3 separate regions of the Homo sapiens genome follow, and regions 2 and 3 are each linked to region 1. Evidence: promoter capture Hi-C in human tissues and cell types (Jung and others, 2019). All regions are on one chromosome and are shown on one strand. Each heading gives the region's core, a stretch centred on a gene start or on the middle of the fragment in contact. The rest is flanking DNA. Distances are from core to core; before and after follow the strand shown. Region 1 holds the start of AMBP (alpha-1-microglobulin/bikunin precursor). Region 2 overlaps COL27A1 (collagen type XXVII alpha 1 chain). Region 3 overlaps ZNF618 (zinc finger protein 618).

Evidence for each region. Contacts are between HindIII fragments. The study calls those that stand out against the background at their distance.
Region 2: a contact is called between a fragment that was not itself captured here and the fragment with the promoter of AMBP in region 1, in 1 of the 25 tissues and cell types used here (spleen).
Region 3: a contact is called between a fragment that was not itself captured here and the fragment with the promoter of AMBP in region 1, in 2 of the 25 tissues and cell types used here (H1 embryonic stem cells and pancreas).

Annotation. Positions count from the first base shown.
Region 1 is chr9:114,076,647-114,080,542 of GRCh38, forward strand. It overlaps AMBP (alpha-1-microglobulin/bikunin precursor), which reads right to left and starts at 1,654. Exons shown (of 10, transcript NM_001633.4): 1 at 1,447-1,654; 2 at 1-94. The coding sequence starts at 1,563. It overlaps LOC107987120 (a long non-coding RNA gene), which reads right to left. Exons shown (of 3, transcript XR_001746905.1): 3 at 3,294-3,896. The HindIII fragment of the contact is 16,108 bases long and covers 1-3,896 here.
Region 2 is chr9:114,255,963-114,259,858 of GRCh38, forward strand. It overlaps COL27A1 (collagen type XXVII alpha 1 chain), which reads left to right. Exons shown (of 61, transcript NM_032888.4): 28 at 2,579-2,632. Among named protein-coding and RNA genes, the nearest start is that of MIR455, 48 kb to the left of the region's middle. The HindIII fragment of the contact is 4,257 bases long and covers 1-3,896 here.
Region 3 is chr9:113,946,077-113,949,972 of GRCh38, forward strand. The region is part of intron 1 of ZNF618 (zinc finger protein 618); the gene reads left to right. Among named protein-coding and RNA genes, the nearest start is that of ZNF618, 72 kb to the left of the region's middle. The HindIII fragment of the contact is 6,054 bases long and covers 1-3,896 here.

The DNA.
Region 1 (3,896 bases), core at 404-2,903:
CCAGCACCAGCGTGCTCACTGTCATCCTGTCCATGATCTTCTTCAGCCAGGGGCAGGTGGAACCGATGGCCAGGTTGTACCACTTCCCATAGATCTAGGAGGCAGGTGAGCTCTGGGGGTCTGCATCAGTCTCAGACCTCAAAGCAGACCTGGCTGACATCTGCTCCCCACCCTCCACCTCCTCCTCTTCCTCCTCCTTCTCCTCAAAATGACTTATCCTTTTAAGGGATAATGTCTTACAACTAATCAGAGGCCACACACCTTCAAGGGAGGCCAGATCCCTAAGAGTGGCGTTTCAGGCATCACAGCGAACCCAGGAAGCAGGTGTGCGGCTGGGGTCCCAACCTGCCCTGCAGAAGGGCTAACTCTCTCAAGATGTGGGATCTGTCCATAGCTCCATCAACCACTGCTCCCCAAGAGCTGGAGTCCTGTCTTTTACTCCTCCAATGATGGGGTGCTCCCCACCTTGCAAGGCAGCCCACAGCCCCATGTTAGGAATTATTTCAAAAGTATAATGAACATGATGGGGTCATTCAGGATAGGCCTGCTTCCTCTTCCTCCTGAAAGTGCACGGGACAGCTGAAGGAGCCCTCAGGCTCCTACGGAACAGGCCAATGTGCCCCACACCCTTTGCGTCCCAGACTGCCACAGGGACCTGCTCCTCATTGCCCCTCTGCCACGACCTTTCCTTGTCCCTAAAAGTAAACAAAACCCACATGACACCACAGCTAGAAGGTTCTGAGACCCTTCATACAGACATGGAGACAGCCCCAGGTGGGCAAGGGTATTCTCAAAGCCACCCCGGGATTTAGGGCAGAGTGGGGGCTGGAAGGCAGCTCTGGCACTCCACACTCACAGGAGAGTGTCCTGCCCCAGTCCAGGTCTCTCCTTGTGCCCAAGCCTCTGAATGTCTCCCAACCCTAATCTCTGTCCTGCTTCACCTCTTCCCATAAGCCCCACATGCCCAACCCAAAAGCTGCTGGCCACATGCCCACGCTGTGCCACCCCAGGTGTCTGTCCACAGTCAGGCCAGGATGTGGGCAGGGGACACAGGAAGAGCTAAGGGAAAGATGCCACAGAGAGAGGGGAGTCATTAGAGAAGGAAGGGCTGGGAGGTCTGGGCAAAGCTAGGTGTCTGCACGGGGGCTGCAGGGCAGTGGCAGGCAGGACAAAGCCTTCTCTGGAGCAGGTTCCCATTAACACAAGGGTTCCCCTTGGAGCCCACGAGGACAGTGCAGAAGGTGAGGATGTTTGACTCATAGAATGTCAGCCAAGAGACCCACGGAATGGCAGGGGATAGAGCTGTACCTTCAAAGGATCCCATAATCCCAGATGATCTGAGTGGAAGCCTGAGACCCCGAGACAGGCCGCACTTGCCCAGCAGGGCCCATCTGCCTGGACTCCCCATCACCACATCCACCCTACCACAGAGAGCGGCAGCCTTACCCGAGAGATATTGAAGTTTTCCTGCACTTGGATGTTGTCGGGCGGCGTTGGCACAGGGCCAGCGCTCACCGCCAGGCAGGCGCTCAGCAGCAAGAGCAGGGCCCCGAGGCTCCTCATGGCTATGGGCTCCTCTGCCTTGGTATATCCCACAGGCTCGGTCTAGCAACAGAAGGGCCACCGCCTCCCTGCAACAGGGCAGCTGTGAACTGAGGCTGGGGAAGGGGCCTGTGGCTTGTAGTTGACCTCAGTGTTTGCCCTGCTCAGCTGGGGCCAATTACAGCCCCAAGGACAGCTCCAATCGATCCCTGTAGCCTGGCTGGGGTCAGCAGTACCAAGAGGCCGGGATGGCTGCTTCAGAAGAGGCATTGGCCAAGCACAATAGGGCCCTGGAGCACCAGGATTGGGCTCCGCCCCCCAAAAGTCCCCCACAGAGGGCATGCGAGGATGGGGAGCGACCTGGCCTTTCTGCTGAGTCATGCCATCTGGACCTCACAGCTCTGTGAGCCAGCAGGTCAAGCCTGATTGGGCCCATTTCTCACAGGAAAAAACTGAGGCCCAAGGAGAGGAAGTGACTTGCCAGAGACCTCAGGGAAGTCTATGGGCAGAGCCAAGACCAGAACCCAGGTATCCTGTCTCCAGAGTTCCTTCTCCAGCCCCCAGGCTTGCCCTAGCCTTTGCAAATAATAGAGACATTAACAATGATGACTGTTACGAGCTTCCGTTCACTGAGCACCTGCTATGTGCTGGCTGTGTACCAGGCACTTTACACGTGCCACAGGTGTCCAGTAAATCCCCACAACAAGCTTACGAAGTAGGTGCTATTTGTCCCCTTTACAGGCAGAGGAGTTGAGTCTCCAAGAAGTGAAGTGACTTGCCCAGAATCCCTCAGCCGGGAGTGGAGTAGCTGGGAAAGGCGTGGTAGAGACCATGGACGTGGGAGCCAGGCAGCCTACAGTGGCACTCACTGCTGTGTGACCTTGGGCAAGTCACTTTACCTTTCAGTGCCTTGGTTTCCTCATCTGTAAATGGGGATAATAATAGTTCCTAGCTCCTAGCATTGTTGAGTGAGCACCTGCAATGCGCTAGGACAGTACCCAGCATAGAGTAAGAGCTGAGTGTTTGTGGTGGGTTGAACAGTGCCCCCTCCAGAATCCATGTGCACCCCGAACCGCAGAATGAACCTGATTTGCAGATGTGATTAGTTAGATGAGGTTGAACTGGATGACAGGGGTTTTAAATCCAATGACCGGTATCTTTATAAGAGAATGGTGAGGGAGACTCAGACACAGGGACACAGAGAGAAGCACGGGGAAGATGTGGCGTGACGCCGAAGGCAGAGATGGGAGGGATGCAGTGACACGTCAAAAATCACCAAGGATTGATGGCAGCCACCAAAAGCTAGCAAAAGGCAAGGAAGGACTTTTCCCCAGAATCTTCAAAGGGAACATGGCTCTGCTGAAAATTTGGTCTCAGGTGTCTGACCTCCAGTGCTGAGAGAAGACACATTTCCTAGCAGCCCTAGGAAACTAATACAGTAGTTATTAAACTTAAGGTTTTATTTATTTATTTATTATTTTGAGACGGAGTTTCACTCTTGTCGCCCAGGCTGGAGTGCAGTGGTGCGATCTCGGCTCACTGCAACCTCCACATTCTGGGCTGAAGTGATTCTTGTGCCTCAGCCTCCCGAGTAGCTGAGATTACAGGTGCCCACCACCATGCCTGGCTAATTTTTGTATTTTTAGTAGAGACAGCGTTTCACCATATTGGCCAGACTGGTCTCTAACTCCTGACCTCAGGTGATCCTCTCACCTCAGCCTCCCAAAGTGCTGGGATTACAGGCGTAAGCCACTGCGCTCAGCCTAAATTTAAGATTTTAAATGAGAATTTTTTAAAACCCAGGTCCGTTGTCTGTGAGCTCACACTCTTGCCAGCAATACCAAAGGCCTCTCTATGAATTTCCCTTCTCCAGTGGTTAAATCTACTGTCCTTACTTCCTCCCTGCTCTTGGCATGGAACATTCCATACTCTCAGCCACCTCTCTGTTAGAGCTGGGAATGACCCCTTCGGGCAGGCAGTCCCAAGATTAAGACCCCTGCTTATGTGAGAATCAAAGGATTCCCCCATGTAGTCAGTGCAGAAACAAATGGTGTATCATGTCCCTTCTGTAAGATTCAGTCAGTACATCCCTCTTTCACTGGTATCCAGAACAAGTGTGCTTCTATTCATAAATGTGTTTCCTTTGCTCCGTCACCCTAACCTTGGCCAGTGATTATATTCCCTTCTTGCTTTGGCTGCTAGGAAGCTCAAAGCCATGATGTAAGTTTAAGCACAGTTACTGTCTTGGTTTAGCTTTCTGGGACAGTTATCTTCGTGTTCCTTGTGTTCACAAAGTTTCTCAATCTTTGATGTTTTAGTTAATGATGGTAATGAGGAGGTGGTAGCCCCCAACT
Region 2 (3,896 bases), core at 564-3,063, 180 kb after region 1:
ATCGGAAATGGTGCAGTGCATGATGTGGTGTCTCACAGCCCTCCTGCATAACTGTGTGCTTCATGAATGGTGATAACTATTTGTTAGAGATGATCATTGCCACTATTATGAGTAAGGCTACTACGATTAAAAGTGACATTTCTGGTGATATTGTTCACACCTGATTGGCATTTTCCCACTTTATCAATCACTTTCACCTCCATGTTGTCCGATAGCACATTGAGATCTATCAAGATTATTATCCCCAGGCCAGGTGCAATGGCTCATGCCTGTAATCCCAGCACTTTGGGAGGCCGAGGCTGGCGGATCACGAGGTCAGGAGATCAAGACCAGCCTGGCTAACACGGTGAAACCCCGTCTCTACTAAAAAACAGAAAAAAATTAGCCGGGCATGGCGGCGGGCACCTGTAGTCCCAGCTACTCGGGAGGCTGAGGCAGGAGAATGGTGTGAACCTGGGAGGCGGAGCTTGCAGTGAGCCAAGATAGCGCCACTGCACTCCAGCCTGGGCGACAGAGCAAGACTCCATCTCAACAAAAAAAGATTATTATCCCCATTATTGGGGGTGGGAGTGAGGCCCTGGGACCTGCCTAGGGTCGCCCTGGGACCTGCCTAGGGTCACCCAGTGACCAGAGTTGGGTCTAGCATTCAATTCTGACCTCCTCCTGCCTTGCGAGAGCAGGCAGCTACCTTTTCCTGAGGACTTTGTCACTTCACCTTCTAGAAACTCTAGGGGGTAAGGACTCTTCTATCCCCATGTTATAGATGACAAAACTGAGGCCCAGTGAGTTGAAGTAACGTGCCTAAGATGGCACAATTAGTAAGTGGCCAAACTGGCATGTGAGCCCGGGTTCTCCAGTGCTACAGCCTGCTCTTTTCAGCACTCTATGCCTTGATGTAGAGACTTGGCTCCCGAAATTTCCCAGCGGTGCATTGCATGCCTTCTGAGCTCTGAGATCACTCTATAAAATGGCCCATTCTCACCCAGTCTTTCTGTTCTCCACCATCCGGGAGTCAGAACTGCCTTTTATGGGGCCAAGCCCGGGTCCACACCCTGCTTGCTCTACTGACGAAGGGTCAGCCTGGGACCCAGCCCCTCACATCAGCCCCTCCACAGCAGCTGTTGGAGGGTCTGCTGGGTGATAGCGGCTGGGTTCACACCCCTCAAAGCCATGGGGAAAGGGAAATGGGAAAGTCAAGAGTTCGCTCTGAGGCACCAGATGGGGCTGGGCCTCTCCCTGGTATTCAGAGGAGGGATGAGACTGGCTCTGCCTTGCAAAAGGAGCACGCCCAGTCTGAGAATTGCTGCGGAGCTGGGAGGCTCCTGGAGCTGGCAGAGGGTCCTGGCTGGCCGGTGGATGAAGTTGCTGCTTGAGGTCTCTCAAGCTGGGCCTGGAATCGGGGTGGGGGCGGGGGAGACATTAGGCAGAGGGGTGGCCTGCTTCCCATCTTCTCCTGTGTTCCCTCCGTTCCCACCCTCTGCCCTCTTCAGTTCATGTGCTCCTTGTTCATTCAGCAGATTCCTGAGTGTCTGTCGTGCACCTGTGCCAGGCCAGGTGCCGAGAATTCCAAGAACTAAACTGGCCCTCTCACCCTGTCTCTCTTGCCCCTCTTGTCGTCTGTTCATCAAAACCAAGATGGCTGCCCATTTGCCCGGGGCTGGGCCTTGCTCCCTTCTCATGCCACCCCACCCACTTCTCTGCCTCTGCCTCCCCTCTCCTTCTCTCTTTCTTGATCCTCTCCCACTCTGCCCTCTCCGCCTCCCAAGCTCACCCCAGGCCTGTGTTCTCAGTTCTTCCTCCTCCTCTTTTCCCTGGGAGAAAATATTCAGGAAAATATTGGGTGTCAGGGTGGAGGTGAGGGACAGAACTTGGGTCACCAGATTCTCCTTTCTGGTGGGGGAGAAAAAGGGAGATGAGGATTTGAGGAGACCTTTTGTCATACATGTCATTGTAGTCTGGATGCAGTGGCTCACACCTGTAATCCCAGCAATTTGGGAGGCTGAGGCAGGAGGATCACTTGAGCCTAGGAGTTTGAGATCAGGCTGGTCAAGATAGTGAGACCCTGTCTCCACAAAAATAAGAAAATTAGCTGGGCATGATGGTGCATGCCTGCAATCCTAGCTACTCAGGAGGCTGAGGCGGGGGGATCACTTGAGCCCGGAGCTCAAGGCTGCACTGCACTCCAGCCCAGGCCACAGAGCGAGATCCTCTCTCAATAAATACATAAATGAATGAATGAATGGCATCGTATCTTCTCATTGTTGATTTTGAGGAAAAGGAGAAGAAAATGTCATGCAGGGGGCCTTATCCCCACTCCCCAGACTCCCAGGAAAGGTCGAGGCCCATCCCCCTATAGCCCAGGGCATTGGCTGTGTTCGAGGCTGTGGCTCGCCTGCTGCTTTCCCCAGTGAGCCAGGTGCCCAGTCCTTCCATGTGGAGGCTGCTGGGGCCCCGGCAGCTTCTGAACATGCCCGTCTGAGGGCTGCAGGCCTTCAAGCTTTGCCCCACACTCCCAGCCCCCCGTGTTGCTCTCACTTCCTAAAAAGGGGCCTCTCCAAACTCTTTCTCCTCTTCCCAGGGTCCTCCAGGATCTCGAGGCCCACCAGGCATGAGGGGAGCAAAGGGACGTCGGGTAAGTCGAGCCCAGCTCCTGGGGGCTGATGCTGGTGGGAGGGGGCACACTTGGAACAGGGCCATCTGCCAGAGACTGCCTGGGCTTTGCCCCTAGCCCAGCTCTGGGATCTGTGACTTTCATAGCACAAGGCAAGGTTCTAGGCTCACCCTGGACCTGTCTCTAGGGGTGGGACCCCACCCCTCTTTCCAACTCATTTCTCAGCCTTGCTATCCACCAGGCACAGTCGGGCTCTCCGGTACTAGTTCTTTGTTCATTCATTTATTCAACCAGCACTTATTTAGCACCTACTGTCTGGCGGACACTGTTGGAGGCTCTACAGGTATAGTGGTGAACAGGACAGACATAACCCCTGCCTGCCCTTGTGAGCCAGTCAACAAGTGAATCAAACCACTTGGCAGATGCAGGTGATAAAATACAGGGTCATCAGCACATGGACTGAGGAAGTATTAGCAGCCTGGAAGCCCAGAGGAGGACCCTACCTGGGCAGGGTACTAAGGAAGGACTTTAGGAGAGGGCAGTGCTTGAGTTGATGCCAGCTTCCTGGCAGGGGACTGGCAGGGGAAGACCTGAAGGTGATACAGGAGGTGGATGCTTAGGTATCCTCAGGGTCAAAAGAGGGACGAGGGAGAGGGATGGGGCTGGGACTTAGCAGGCACCAAGCGAGGCAGGGCCTCAAAAGCCACAGCTATACTCCAAGGGCATTGGGAGGCTGCAGGGGGTTTTAAACAAGGCTTCCCTGAGCAGTCACTGGAAGTAATCGCCAGCACTTAATCTATGCCAGATACTGCCTGTCACACACATTAACTCATTTAATCCTCAACACTACCCTGTCATGAAGGTGCTATTCTCATTCCCATTTTATTATTATTTTATTATTGGATTACTTAACCTTTCTCCCAGAAAGCCTTTGATTCCTGGGATAAACTAGGTGCTATGTGATTCAGCCCAAGCCCTGAACACCTCTGAGCCTCCACTCCACTCCCAGAGAGGCACAGAAAGGTTGAGTCACTTACCTCAAGTTGCACAGCTAAAAAGTGGCAGAGCTGGGATTTGAACCCAGGGAATCTGGCTCATTTGCATACTGAATTCAGCCTTATTTTCAATCACACAGGGAGGGTTGACAGGATGGTCTGCCAGCAATAGGTATACAGGCGTGGGGCCGTGCAGCCTTATTGTAAAGAGAAAGTGAGATGGTGCAGGTGGTGCCGGCAGCCCAGGCCTGATATCCAAGCTCCATACGGGGGGATCTGTGATTATTATT
Region 3 (3,896 bases), core at 468-2,967, 130 kb before region 1:
AGAATAATGCAAGGCCTTGAGAGCCAGCACCACTGTCAGGGCCAAGAGCTGTTCAGAGCAGGATGGTCTTGGCGCTCTGCGGAGCCCCCTGGGCCAAAGCAGCCAGGAATATCAAGGCCACAGGCTTAGCCCCCTCACGGAAACCTGGGGTGTTAAAGCTTTCGGGGCTTCAAGAAATTACAGCCCCATTCTCATTTTATGGAGAGGGAAACTGAGTTTAAAGAGGGGCGGTGGCTTGCCTAGCCCAAGGTCACATAGCAAGTTAATTAAATTTATGGAGAAAAAGGCAGTGAATGCAATTAGTGAAGTGGGGGAAGTCTTCAAAAAAAAAAAAAAAAAAGATGCAGGCAATTTATTGGTGACAAGTCTAGAAACTATTTTCCAAGGAAATGGGGAGTCCTGGGACTTCTCTTGAGTTCACAGAGGCAGGCAGCCCTTCACTCCTTCAAGACATCCCACCTTTATGCCCCTGATGGCAGACACCGCACCTAGAGGAAGGGACTCGGCCCTGACCCAGCGTGTAATTACCAGTGCGAGGTAGGGGGCAAGCTGCGATGTTAATCAGCATCACCGCTGAAGAGTGAGTGTCTGTGTGCGTCTTTTGCCTCCTCTCTGAGAGGGGCTGTGAAAGTACCCCTCGCAGGATGTAGACGGGAGTGTGTGTGTTTATGTGCTGGAAATGGCAGCAGGCAAGTTGGGGATCTCATGTTCTTGGACTCATCTGTCCTTGCAGAGCTGCAAGGGAGCCTAGTGGCTGGTTATTCCCAGGACCCTTCCTGATGCCATCTCTGCTACAGAATTCCTGACAGGTGTTTGCTTGTTTCCAGTTGGGCTCACCCACATGTTCCCTGCAGCCCATTCCATTTGAGGTGGTTCTGGGAAAGCCTGCCTCCTCCTCACTGTCTTTGGTTCTTAAATCTGTGTTCTGTTTTGGGGACGACACAGACAGCATCTCCCCTGTCCCCTTCTGAGTGGAGGCCTGTTGTTATCCAGCACCACCATTGACAGAAGTCATGAGCTTGCGGAGCCTGCTGCAGAGGAGGGGCTCAGGGAAGGTTTGCAGAATGAAGCAATTTGGTGCTCTCGACAAAGAATCTGTCTTGGGGCTCTTTAGTGAATCCTTTCTACACTGGTTGGCTGGGATCGTCCAGGGGATTTTGGAATCAGAGCTGGATTTGAACCTGGGCTCCTTCACCTGAGCAAGATATTTAATCTCAGTAATTCTCAGTTTCCTCCTCTGGACAATTGAGATAAGAATACTTACTCCACAGCATTACCATGAAGAGGCATGCGTGTAGAGTGTTTAGTACACTGCTGAGCACATGTGATGGTGGGAATAATTATAATGTACTCATGACATATGACACCAGCCAGGTCCTCCTGCTAACATGTTCCTTGAGATGTCCATCTTATTACTGAAGTCCCCAAAGTCCTGCACAGGGCCTGACACACAGACCCCTACCGGAACCTTCCAGCTCCTACAGCCATGTGCCTCTGATTCTTAATGACTGTTGAACTGAACTGAGCTGAATTGAGAGTTCTGTCCTGCGTTTTACAAGCTCAGAGTCAGGCCTTCGGGAGACCCCTTGGGATGAGGCTGTCTGTATTTCCCCGAGGCCAGACCAGCCCTGGTGTGGAGGCTTCCGAGCTGGTTCGAGGTCTCCCCCAGCCTTTTAGAATGTGAAAGCAGCCAATAAGAGTCTCAACTAGAAAAACAAGTGCCGCAGCTCTATTGTTGTGTTTTATTGGAAATAAAATTTTTATTCTCTTTCTTCCCCTCTTCTCCGTGCAAGAAAACCACAGCTGCCTCAGACTTTGAAGTCCTTTTAAGTTGCAGGCCTAGAAGAATGGGAGGGAGAGGGGAGGTCCAGGCCATCCCTTTGGTCGCCATGTTGCCACTCTTGACAAAGAGCATCAGAATGGCAGCTTGTTTTTTCCTCAGTCAATGGCAGAGCTGGGTAGATTGCATGGAAGAGATGCTGTTGGCCTCTCTGGGAACAGAGCAGCCTCCCCCGCCCTCATCTTTATTGGATTTCAATGAGTCTTTCTGCTGTGGGTCATACATGCAGTGCGACCTCATAAATGGAGCGGTGGAATTTTCACTCCCTTTGTACTGAGGGCCTCAAGCATACTCCATCGCCATTGTCAACCCTGGATGGGTAAAACGCAGAAAACCAGGCAGAACTGATTCCTCCCAGGCAGCCCTGAGACCTGGAATATGACAGTTCTAAGTTTCTAGGCACTCGCTAGTCAGAAGGCGGAATAGGGCAGGAAAGCAGAGATGACATTTCCCACCTCGTGCCCCTGAGTCTTCTCTGGAAATCCAGATCCTCACACTTTTCTGTGGAATATATCAGGGCCTTCAAGAGAATGGGCAAGGCTTTGGGCCTCACAGCTTTGCAGTTGTTGCATCAGAGGAAGCCTGTAGCCATGGGAGTTAGAAGGCTCTAGAAAGATTCTGGAGGCCCTGTAAAGCTGAGATGTTTTTAATCAAAAGTTAGTGGATTAAAAGGCCATGTGTTATTTAACTGGATGTGCCTGGTAGCTGCCAGTTAAGTGCCTGTTTTGTGCCACTCGTCCATCCACATATTTTTGAGGGCCCAAAATGTGCCAGCCATTGTGCGAGGAGCCAGCCGTGTTGGGGAAGCAGTGGGAGTCCCTGATGTTGAAGCAGTGGGAGTCCCTGATGTTGTGGTGGTGGCTACAGAAGGCAGCGCTGGTAATAACAGGAAGAAAGCAGTGCCCCCCACCCCACAGATGAGATGTATACCCAGGGTCAGATCTGTTGATGGCATTATTTCTGCACTTACCAGCTTGGTGGGGAAGGTTCCTGCTTTGCTGCATTTTGAAACTGGGAGTTTGCTATGAGATCATCTGTTCTCCCGCTTCTTCCCAAAAGGGGGAACTCAAGGACGGTGGGCAGTTGATCTCTGCCTATTTACTCAGCCTGTAAGTTTCAGAGATGAAGCTTGAATGCATGTCTTCCCGGTCATCAGTCCAGATCTTGTAATTAGATGAAATGGGTGACGGAAGAGTGAGGCTGGTGCACCATGGGATGGCTGTAATTGCCCGTGACATCACCTTGCGTCTGACTTCTGCATTGGAGCTTCACATCTTCCACATGGAGGTGGCTGCTGGCTATTACAAATTGCTGCATGCATTTGAAAAGATATAATTAGAGAAGGAGCATTTCCATTGCAGTCCCACATGAAGGGCTGGGTGTTCACAGTGCAAGTCCTGTAATTCAAGGGGTCGGTGGCAGAGATGGTCCTCTGATGTGAAGAGTTCCTTTGTCCCCCACCATCCCTCCAGACCCCTGTCCTCTGTGTGGTCCGAGACAGGAGTTGTTCTTACAGTCCCTCGGAGGCGTATGGTTCTTCCTTACGGCTGGTTCCTCTGCATCCCTACCACTGGGTCATCCAACTTAAATGCCTCTGTTGTCAAGGTGCTCACTACCTCAGTCAGACTCTTTCCCTGGAGGAGAATGTTCCTCTTCATCCTGAGCTCAGAGCTGCCTCCTTCTGATTTCTGTCCCCAGGGGTTGTATGCTCCCCGCTCCTCTCTCCCCTCCCGGACTGAAGGGCAGGTCTCTGGCCCTACATGGTCCACCTCTGTCAGCCGCCACCACACTGGCTCCGCCTGGGAAAATCCTGCCCGCCGATGTGTAAGTGTGTCACTGCCAATAATAGTGCGAAGCCTCCAAATCTGAGGGCCTTTCTAGGATCGTTTCCTGATTAATTAGGTCAGCATCTCCAAAATCAATTTCCAGCGAAGTCGCGCCACCTGGTAGCGCCGTTCCCTGCCCAGCCAGGCGAGGGAGTTGGCACGGGAGGCAATTCCCTGGCCTCTGGTGCAGTTCAGGTCTTGTCTCTACCTCATCTCTTCTGTGATTATCC